Linked DNA regions of Homo sapiens: region 2 is linked to region 1. The links are contacts of gene promoters, found by promoter capture Hi-C in blood cells and fetal thymus (Javierre and others, 2016). All regions are on one chromosome and are shown on one strand. Each heading gives the region's core, a stretch centred on a gene start or on the middle of the fragment in contact. The rest is flanking DNA. Distances are from core to core; before and after follow the strand shown. Region 1 holds the start of H2AJ (H2A.J histone). Region 2 overlaps STRAP (serine/threonine kinase receptor associated protein).

Region 1 (4,893 bases), core at 1,569-4,068:
GGGGGAGAGGACTTTTTTCTCTTTTACGGCCCTGCAGATAATTAAAATTCTTTCAATTGAAAAAAGAAAGTGCAGCTTCCCGTCCCCCACCTACACTCCACCCCCACCTCCCCCCGACCCCCGCCATTCCCCTTTCAGCTGCTTCTGCGCAATTTGCAGGTTTTCCTGCCCTGCAAGAGCCTGTGTGCTTTTCAACCAAGTAACTTCCTGTGGTTATTTAGTTGAAATATTGTCAATGTCTTATGTCATTCAAATCTCAGGTTCTCATCTCACATTTTCCACTTAAAAATTCAAAGTTCTTGTAAAACAATGGATGCCACAATCATGACTTGGAATAATGATTTCTACTGCAAATCCCCTCAGGAGGTTCTGAATCCCTTCCTTTCTCAAGAGAATCCCTGAACAAAAACGAAAGTTTCTGTAAGGTGTCACCGCTCTTCAAAGGTGTCAGGACCCTGTCTTCTCTAAAGGTTTTACTGTGTTAAAAAGCAGCTGTTATTTAGAGGATGAGTCATAAGTCTTTCCCAGGTAGTTAATTAGGATTCTGAGCAATGAATTTTAGTAAGTGGGGCTTCTTTGTCCCTGGTCTTGAAGATAAGCCTTTACAGCAGGAAGACTTTATGGTAAAATTTTGTTATATTTATAAATGCCTATAGTTTACATTTGTTTCAATCCATGCCCATCTTCATAACCCAAAAGGTATTTATTTTTCTTTTACTTTTTGTTAAAGATAAAAGAGTTGGAACACTGTCTTGAATGGCTGGAAAAAGTCCTGAATGGTCGAACTTCACTCATGATTTTAATATTTGACTCAGAGGGAAGAGGAAAAGTCTATCAGATCTTGAAGAGATAAGAATTATTGTAATGGGGCCGGGCGCGGTGGCTCACGCCTGTAATCCCAGCGCTCTGGGAGGCCGAGGAGGGCGGATTACGAGGTCAGGAGATCGAGACCATCCTGACTAACATGGTGAAACCCCATCTCTACTAAAAATACATAAAAATTAGCCGGGCGTGGTGGCGGGCGCCTGTAGTCCCAGCTACTCGGGAGGCTGAGGCAGGAGAATGGCGTGAACCCGGGAGACGGAGCTTGCAGTGAGCCGAGATCGCGCCACTGCACTCCAGCCTGGGCGACAGAGCGAGACTCCGTCTCAAAAAAAAAAAAAAAAAATTATTGTAATGGTAAAATCGGTTGACTTACTTATAGTTAAGCTTTCTAAGAAATCAAGACTAGAACATTTTCAAATTAGAAATCTCTTGCTTATTGGAATAAAAGAAAAAAAATCGTGTCTAAAATAGTAATACTTTTAAAAACTCTTGAAAATTCCCCAAGATACAGGCAAAAATTTAAGCTAGTTTACAGAACTCATTCCAGGAACATCTCGTTAAAAACTGCATCAGAGATTTGTATGCCCATTTATTTGGTATATCTAAGAGTTATTGGATGCTTACTAACGTATTTAATTTTCAAAACACTTTGATACAGGTAGAGGAGTCAAATAACTTATCAAAGGTCACTGCTCAGTGGTAAAGCCAGGATTTAGGCTGAGGCAGACTGGCTCCGGAAAGACCGCCTAAACCATGACAATAGCTCTGAAGACATTTATTGAGTCCCCAGTATGGGTTCATCATTGTTCTAGGCAGTAATGACATATACATAAATATTTGAAAATGTTATTTCAATGAAGTCAAATCTTTATTCGGATAGTGAGAAGGTAAATTTGCTTTACTTTAAATGTAAATGAATCCACATAAAATGTTTATTTTAAAAAGCAAGCGTTCAACATTACATCACGTATCGGTGTTAACTGTGTTACTGAAAATGTTCAGGTAAAAATGAAATGACCTCGATGAATTAGGAGAAAGTAATTTTTAATTAAAACAAAACACTTGAAACACTCTTTTTGTTTCAAAAAGCATGGGTCCACAATTCAGGTATATAAGAATAAGCTGCCATTCTGACTTTAGTCTCTGGACTCATTTACAAAGAGACCCGGGGGACCTCCACGTCTTCGCAGAGGACCCGATCCGCTGATCTGTGGCGCCCTGGCTTGCGGGGAGCAAGCCAAGGCCAAGACTTTGGCCTCTCCAATAAAACCTAGTGGCTCTTTGCAGGCCCATAGCCTCAAAGACAAAAGATATTTTGGCTAGGCGAGCTTGTTCCTCCCGTCAGCACAGGAAGCATTCACGTCTGGTCATCACTCTAGCTTCAGACTCAAAAGTGAACGATTGGCTGGCTGTGAGCCGCAGGACCCTGCGGGGAGACCAGGGTGGTCTCTACACTGTTGGGTAGCTAGCTGGAGGCAAGGCGCTTGTATAAGAAACAGTCCACGGACCCTGTCCTGGGCAGGCAGAATTCCGCGGACAGGCTGTTGTTTCGCCTAAGCAGCACGGGCTGCGGAGACAGAAACCTACCTGAGTAGTACGGTGTATTATATGAGAACATCCACTTAGCATAGCAACGTCTACGGACAACCCCTGTAGCTCTTCTTCTGGATTGTTTTCTGTTTCCAACCATGTTTTCTTATTTCCTACGAGTTTATGTGCTTGGAAGCGAGCGTGGTCGTGGAAAACCCGTAACCGCTAAATTCATCTGGGTCCCCAAAGACTGAGCCGGCTGGCCTCGTTATTTATGTGAGCGGCTATGTAAATGAGGATTCGGAGATTGCTCTATTGATTGGAGAGAGCTGGAGGAGGCGGTCTCTCTTCCAGAGCGCTAGTTGGGAGCGGAGCCTGCCTGTCATTGGTCACCAGAGCCAATGGAAAGGGGCTGCCGCGCGGCCGTAAAGAGTTTGTAGAGGCAGTTCGGGTGCGGTACGTTGCATTCCGGTACCGGACGCCGAGAGCGGTTTGTCTCCGTCTCTGGAGTTGTAGGCGAGAGGTGATCATGTCCGGTCGCGGGAAACAGGGCGGCAAAGTGCGAGCAAAGGCCAAATCCCGCTCCTCCCGCGCGGGCCTGCAGTTCCCGGTGGGCCGAGTGCACAGACTGCTGCGCAAAGGGAACTACGCGGAGCGAGTGGGCGCCGGGGCGCCGGTGTACCTGGCGGCGGTGTTGGAGTACCTTACGGCGGAGATCCTGGAGCTGGCTGGCAACGCCGCGCGTGACAACAAGAAGACCAGGATAATTCCCCGCCACCTGCAGCTCGCCATCCGCAACGACGAGGAGTTAAACAAGCTGCTGGGCAAAGTGACCATCGCTCAGGGCGGCGTCCTGCCCAACATCCAGGCCGTGCTGCTGCCCAAGAAGACGGAGAGTCAGAAGACGAAGAGCAAATGACCCTGACGCCGCCCTCAGGGAGCTGGCTCCCCCAGCAAAGGCCCTTTTCATGGTCGTCCCGCAATGCTTTTGAATGTGCTGGATGTCATGGAGGGCCGGTGACATCTAGCGGGGAGGTGGGCGGCGAGGGTCCCGGCGGGAGCCAATAAAGTTGGTGAAAATCGTTTGGTCGAGAGAGCTGTGTAGTCGCGGGGACATGTCGGATGGCCCCAGGGGAGGGGGGCGACCGGGAAACCCCTGGAGCAGGCACTGGTGGGTGGGCTTGAGCCACTCTGGACGGCTTTAGTCCGCAGGTCACCCTCGAGGCGTCAGGGGAGGGTGGCCTGGAGGTGGGCAGGGTGGAAGCCACCTCGCTGTCAGTAGGGCAAAGGGGAGGCAGAGTCGGTGCGGTGAGGCCTCCTTCGGAATTATTTTTACTTCCCTTTCACAGAGCCTTCGCTCTCCTGCCAGTTTGTGAGCACTCAGGACCAAGTTCTGGGAAGATACCGTCGGATCGAGCTGAGCTCGGGGCAGGAAGTGTCTGCGGCCATATTTTTCAAAAAGTGGAGTAACTTTCCGTCTTGGAAGGGTGGCTCTGATGGCACGATGTCAACTTGAGATTCTTCCTAGCCTAGTAGCTGCTGTGCTTTCATGCTTTGGATATCAGATATCTTTATATAGCACTTTTATGTTCATATTTTTTTTTTAATGAAGGAAACGTTCAATAAGTGAGTCATGAGGTTGGAAATTCGTTCCCCTGACAGTCATATTGCATAACATTGCAGCGCCTTTAGTCGTGGGTTACATATGCTTGAGCTTTTAAAGTGATGTTGTCAAGTTTCTAGCTTCATAATGATCCTGTCTTCATCATATCATATTCACTTTGAGAATCGGTTTGACTTTGCTTTCAAACAAAACAAAAACCTCTTGCTTTTAGGGGTTCTTACCCAACAAATAACCTGTTTGAACTCTCTTATATTCTCCCACTAGCCTGAAGCAATGACCTCATTCCAGTAATGTCTTTGGGAGTTGCATTGCCTAATGGCACAATATTGCTTTAATAAACATGTAAGGAAAGATAGGACCAAATATGTAAGTGCAGGGGGAAACACATTTCAGACCAGGAATCCACATTGAAAAGTTAACACTAGTAATCATCTTCTGCCCTTAATTGACACTCCTATTTATTTCATCCTCAGCAAATTTCATCCTGGCTCACAGACCCCACAAAAAAGATCCCAGTACAGATTTCACATCTTTGGATTCATCTTTCCTGTGAGTCGGAATTGAAGTCTTCCCCAAAAATATATGTATATATTGTATGTCTTCATCCTTGGTAGCGGCTGGCCCATTTTCCCACATGGACTTTATTTTGTCCCCAGTATTTATTGAACAGCTGTCTATGCCAGGCTCTGTACAAAGTGATAGGAGTAGAGCTGTGAATGAGGCCAACCAGATTTCCACTCTCTCGGAGCTCACTTTATTTTTATTGGTTCCTGAAGACGGGACAAGGAACAAATACATACGTTAATATGAGAGATCAGCTTCTGTTAGTACTTGTACCTCTCTGCTGTGTGTGGATGAATGATGGAATTACTTCTCCCATGTTGCCATTTTTGAGGTGTACAAAGGTCAGGCCG
Region 2 (5,178 bases), core at 809-3,308, 1.1 Mb after region 1:
TTGGAAAACTCATTTATGGTGTGGTCATTTAGAAGTGGAATTTGGTCCCGTTTCTTGTGGAGAAATTTAGCAGAATAGGTCTGTGGACTAGTGTAGAATGTTATCTTGGAGTAATTCGGGCAATTGAGTCCAGTGTTGAGTACAGTGTCCCTAAAACACCATCTCTTTGTATCTATTTGGGAAGAGTGCCAAAGTAAAGACAATTCTGTGCTGTGCTCCCAAGAGGGCTTAAGTAGATCTGGGATTGGGTCCAGGAATTTATAGGTAATCACAATGTATCACTCTTTCTTTCTTGTAAAGCCAATAGAAATATCTAATTTTAGTTTTAATAAGGTTCTTGATAAATCGAAAATGGTATTATCTCCTAGATGACTTGGTCAACATGTTAAGGTATTTGGGCAATTTTTTAAAAATCTTAAACTGGCCTGTTTTGTTGAAGGTTTAAATAAGTAAGTTAAGCAGCTCCTATTATGAGACTTACGGTAAGTTCATTCTGAGGATATGGAAAGTATCAGGCAGCATTATTATTTGCAAGAAACTGGGGTATAAGAGGTAACAGTAGTTTAAGGAGATGACAAGTACTTCGTGGGATGTGAAGAAAATGTTGGAGGGTTAGCTGCTGAAAGGGTATTGTTAATAGCGCTTTACTGTCTTGATTTGAGCCCTGTGGCCAACTAATATATGTCAATTTCTTGCCTGGAGATTGAATAATACATTAGGAAACATTTAGATTAGATCCATTTTAGGGCTCTTACTGTGAATAATGGAAATCTGCCAGAGTTAGTACATGCCCTGTCAGAAAATGTCATGCCTCTATTTTAGTACTGTTTCTAAATAGGAGGAAAAACTACAGACACATTACCTCTCTGGTTAATATTACTACTTTGGTCACTCCAACTCTCTTCTCACCTTTGAATAGACACAGTCTAAGCAGAATCTTAAGATTTTAGAGCTGCCATGTTGGCGTTAGCCTGTAGCTACTTAGGAGGCTGAGGTGGAAGGATCTTGAGGCCAGGAGTTCAAGTATAGCTTGGGCAATATACCAAGATCCTGTCTCAAAAAAAAAAAGAGAGAGAGGTTTTAAGTTTATGGGAGATTATTTAATAAACTTGAAATTAGCATATCAAAGGACATTGCCCGGGTTTCTTTGGAGACTTGTGAATAATTAGAATAGTAATTTTAGATACATTTGTTGTTTTCTTCACTTTTGATGCTTTCTGTCATTCTAATACTTGTGAACCCTTACCACAACCATGAAATGCATTTCACTGTGATTAAGGATATATGTAAACAAAAAACAAAGCAAATTTAAGCACCGTAATAAGTGGAGTTCTGTGGGAGAACAGAAAGGAATGGTTAATTATTGGAGTTGAGGATAAATAGTTTCAAAGAAAAGATAGCATTTGAAATGAGCCCTAAGGGTGAGTAGAACTTTAATAGCTAAGAATGTAAAATACAGACTTAAGAGAATAATATAAACAAGAACATAGGAGCCTGGAAGAAAATACGTAAGTTATTTGAGGAGTGGTTTATAATCTAGTGTTGCTAGATTCAGAGAAACAATACAAAATGAGGTTGGGAAAGTAGATTGGGGCCAGAGAGTTGCATTGGAATGACAGAGAGAGGAGCAAGTTTCCTGGGCAAAGAGAAATGAATACTAGGGAGTTTAGCAGCAAGGCTACTTATAGTTGACATTATTTCTTTCAGAACATATTTATTCAGCCACTCACATGACCCACATTATTAAATATTGCAAGCTTTGGTAGTGTATCATGAGCATTCCTGTTAGATGGTCTTTCATATTCATTAACCACATTGCACATGCTATTAATGCTTATCTAGAATAGCCTTCCCTTCTTTTTCCCCTGATATATTTCTCTTTGCTTCTTCCGACGGCTAGCTCTGTTACTTACATTTTCTGGACAATATCTAGGTGCTTTTTTCTGAGTTTTTATAGCCATATATATGTCTTTTAATTATATTTCTTAAATGTGATATTTAATGCATGTTTTTCTCCTCAGCTAAAGCTCTACTATGGCAAGAACCTACTGTGGGGTATTTTTTGTCTCCCATTTGTGCCTTAGCACTAAGTATAGAATGATATATATTTAATATATTTTATTATGTATTGGGGTAAGCAAAAGAAAAGATACATCTTGCTTTTCTCTGATTTTTTTCCCTCTACCATTTTATTGCCCACTGTGTTCCTGAAAATAAATAGCAGTTGCATTAAAATGGAAATCTCTATGGAACATAGCTTTTTCACTCTTAGCAATTCTTTTCCCTGTCTGCAAAGTTTTCTTGTTTATTTTTCACTGACCTGTTCTGATCTAAAATCAACTTTTTTTTCCCCCTTCCTTAAGCTTTTTTATTTGGGGGAACCCTTTTAGAGTAATTTTGTAAAGTATTGCTCAACTATTACCCGCCCAGAATATACATACACATATAAATGTATGTATACCTATAACCAACTTGTATTTTGGGGTGGGGTGGGACAGAAAAAACAATGTAAAGATTAAAATAGTCAGTGTTAGCATTATATAATCAAAGGCTGATAGTTTGGGGGAAGTTAACTGTACTAGAGTTTGAAATTTTAAGTCAGCTTTGAAGAAGAGATGAAGTGGACATTGTCTCTCCACTATCTTAATTTAAAATTTTACTTAGCCTGTACCAAGGCTTTTCATTCCCTTGTAACATTTTTAAGGATTTCTGGTTTTTTTATTTATTTTTATTTTTTATTGTGCATCTGAGTGGAGAATAGAGAAAAAATTGGCATGGTGAAACTAAAAATTGGTTAAAATGTATGACAGGCTTGCTAAAGGGATATTATGGCTGTCAGCTAAAATAAAAGTAAGGAGGATGGGTTGGTTCATGAATCTTACTTGCTTAAATTGTTCATATCTTTTCCACTGTCAAAGAAAATTAGATTGGTTATAAAGTTTTTACAGAGAAATTTCTTTTCCCTTAAGCTTATTTAAATATTTTATCAAATGAAGTCTGTGAGGGATATTAGAGATAAAGGAGATTTATAATACATTTATGTAACATTTCACATATCTAACTTATTTGGTACTCATCAATATTATAATTGTATTTATCCTTTTAATATATTGGGTAATATTTATCCTACTAATTTTCTCTTTTTTACTTTTAGCAAAGTGTGGGATGCTGTCTCAGGAGATGAATTGATGACCCTGGCTCATAAACACATTGTCAAGACTGTGGATTTCACGCAGGTATCAGAAAATGGAATTTATTTTAGCGAGTTAAGTTGCTGGTACATAGTGTGATAATGCTTTTATACTTGATTGGTGTGTATATTTGATTGATATGTTTTGTGTGGAATATTTGTTATTTCTTGGTTCATATTTGATTTGATTGTGTATTAAGCTCTATGAATTTGTTTCATAGTTAATCCTGTCAAGCTTTTAAGATACTGTGGAACGAGTACCAGTCCTTCAACATGTAAAAAACATCTGAAAAGCTCAAGTAGCCTTCCCCAACTACTAATAGAAGGGAGAAGATAAATTTGAGATAATCAGAAAAGGGCCTCTCACAAGGGAGAGGAGTAGGATCAGGGGAGAATGGGAGAGTTCATGTATATGTAGTGTAGTGTAACGCTTTTGAAGTGGAAAGCTTACAAGTCTTGGCAGTTATGAGAGGTCAGCTGTTCCACAGTATCTTCTCAGAAGTAATTGGTTATGTCTTGGCATCTCTTTGTGATGTCTGTGAGCTAGATTTTGATTTTATTTGGTGTTGAAATTTGAAAGAGAAATAACTATTAAAATGGTTAATCTATTCACATTTTACTTTGTGTTTTCAGGATAGTAATTATTTGTTAACCGGGGGACAGGATAAACTGTTACGCATATATGACTTGAACAAACCTGAAGCAGGTAAGCATAATTTAAACATCAGCTTCTAGTTTTATTTTCTTTTAATTTAAATAACTGATTAAAGAATTTCATGCTCAGTACTCAAATTTGGAAAATAAAGATAGTCATGGCCGGGCACGGTGGCTCATACCTGTAATCCTAGCACTTTGGGAGACTGAGGCGGGTGGATCACTTGAGGTCAGGAGTTCGAGACCAGCCTGGCCAACATGGCAAAACCCCGTCTCTATTAAAAATAGAAAAATTAGCCAGGCATGGTGGCAGGCGCTTGTAATCCCAGCTACTTGGGAGGCTGAGGCAGGAGAATCGCTTGAACCCGGGAGGTGGAGGTTGCAGTGAGCCGAGATTGCGCCACTGCACTCCAGCCTGGGCAATAAGAGTGAAACTCAGTTTCAAAAAAAAAAAAATAGTCAACAAAGAAGAAAATTAAAACGTAATTCATCAGTTTTTGGTTTATAAACTTTCAGTCTTTTTTTCTGCACAGTTTTTAAAAAATAAGTTTATTTGCTATGTTGCTATTGTATAACCTTCTTCCAAACTGAAAATTTATTATGGCAAATTTTTATCATTAAGTTTTAAAACAGTGCAGAACAGTGTTACTATTTTTTGGTAAGAAAGATTGGTTATTTATAGAAGTTGGTGATGGTGAGAATTCTCAGTTGTGTGCACATATTGCTTAGATTTTTGAACCATGTAAATATATTAGCTATTCGAAAGAATTTTAAAAAATCTGCAGTTACAGTTTTTTCATTTCACTAAATAGTCTATGAACTGTTTGTAATGACTTTCTGGTTTTCCATCCTGTGGTTATATCATAAGTGAATTAACTAGTTTCCTGTTTTGGCCCGTTTGGGCTACTTACAGATTTTAAATATGAAAAGCAGTATTATGCTAAACATCCTTACAGTTGCAAATATTTTCACAATGATTTCCTTAAGATAACTAAGCAAAAGTAGAATTGGTGGGACAAAGAGGAGTGGAATTGTTGGAAGGTGGCCGGGCGCAGTGGCTCACGCCTGTAATCCCAGTGCTTTGGGAGGCCAAGGTGAGTGGATCACCTGAGGTCAGGAGTTCAATACCAGCCTGGCCAACATGGTGAAACCCCATCTCTACTAAAAGTACAAAAAAATTAGCTGGGCATGGTGGCAGGCGCCTGTAATTCCCAGGTACTCAGGAGGGTGAGGCAGGAGAATCGCTTGAACCCGGGAGGTAGAGGTTGCAGTGAGCCGAGATTGCATACCAGCCTGGGGGACAAGAGCAAAACTCCTTCTCAAAAAGAAAAAAA

Evidence for each region. Contacts are between HindIII fragments. The CHiCAGO score rates a contact against its expected background, and 5 or more counts as called.
Region 2: a fragment that was not itself captured here is called in contact with the fragment with the promoter of H2AJ in region 1 in 10 of 17 cell types (total CD4 T cells, total CD8 T cells, naive CD4 T cells and 7 more); the score reaches 11.9 in total CD4 T cells.

Annotation. Positions count from the first base shown.
Region 1 is chr12:14,771,587-14,776,479 of GRCh38, forward strand. It overlaps H2AJ (H2A.J histone), which reads left to right and starts at 2,819. Exons shown (of 1, transcript NM_177925.5): 1 at 2,819-3,438. The coding sequence starts at 2,885. The coding sequence ends at 3,274. RefSeq lists enhancers at 2,239-3,156, 2,370-2,579, 2,770-3,099, 3,110-3,269, 3,157-4,073 and 1 more. The HindIII fragment of the contact is 5,193 bases long and covers 1,208-4,893 here.
Region 2 is chr12:15,886,774-15,891,951 of GRCh38, forward strand. It overlaps STRAP (serine/threonine kinase receptor associated protein), which reads left to right. Exons shown (of 10, transcript NM_007178.4): 3 at 3,155-3,236; 4 at 3,824-3,896. Among named protein-coding and RNA genes, the nearest start is that of STRAP, 7.0 kb to the left of the region's middle. The HindIII fragment of the contact is 606 bases long and covers 1,756-2,361 here.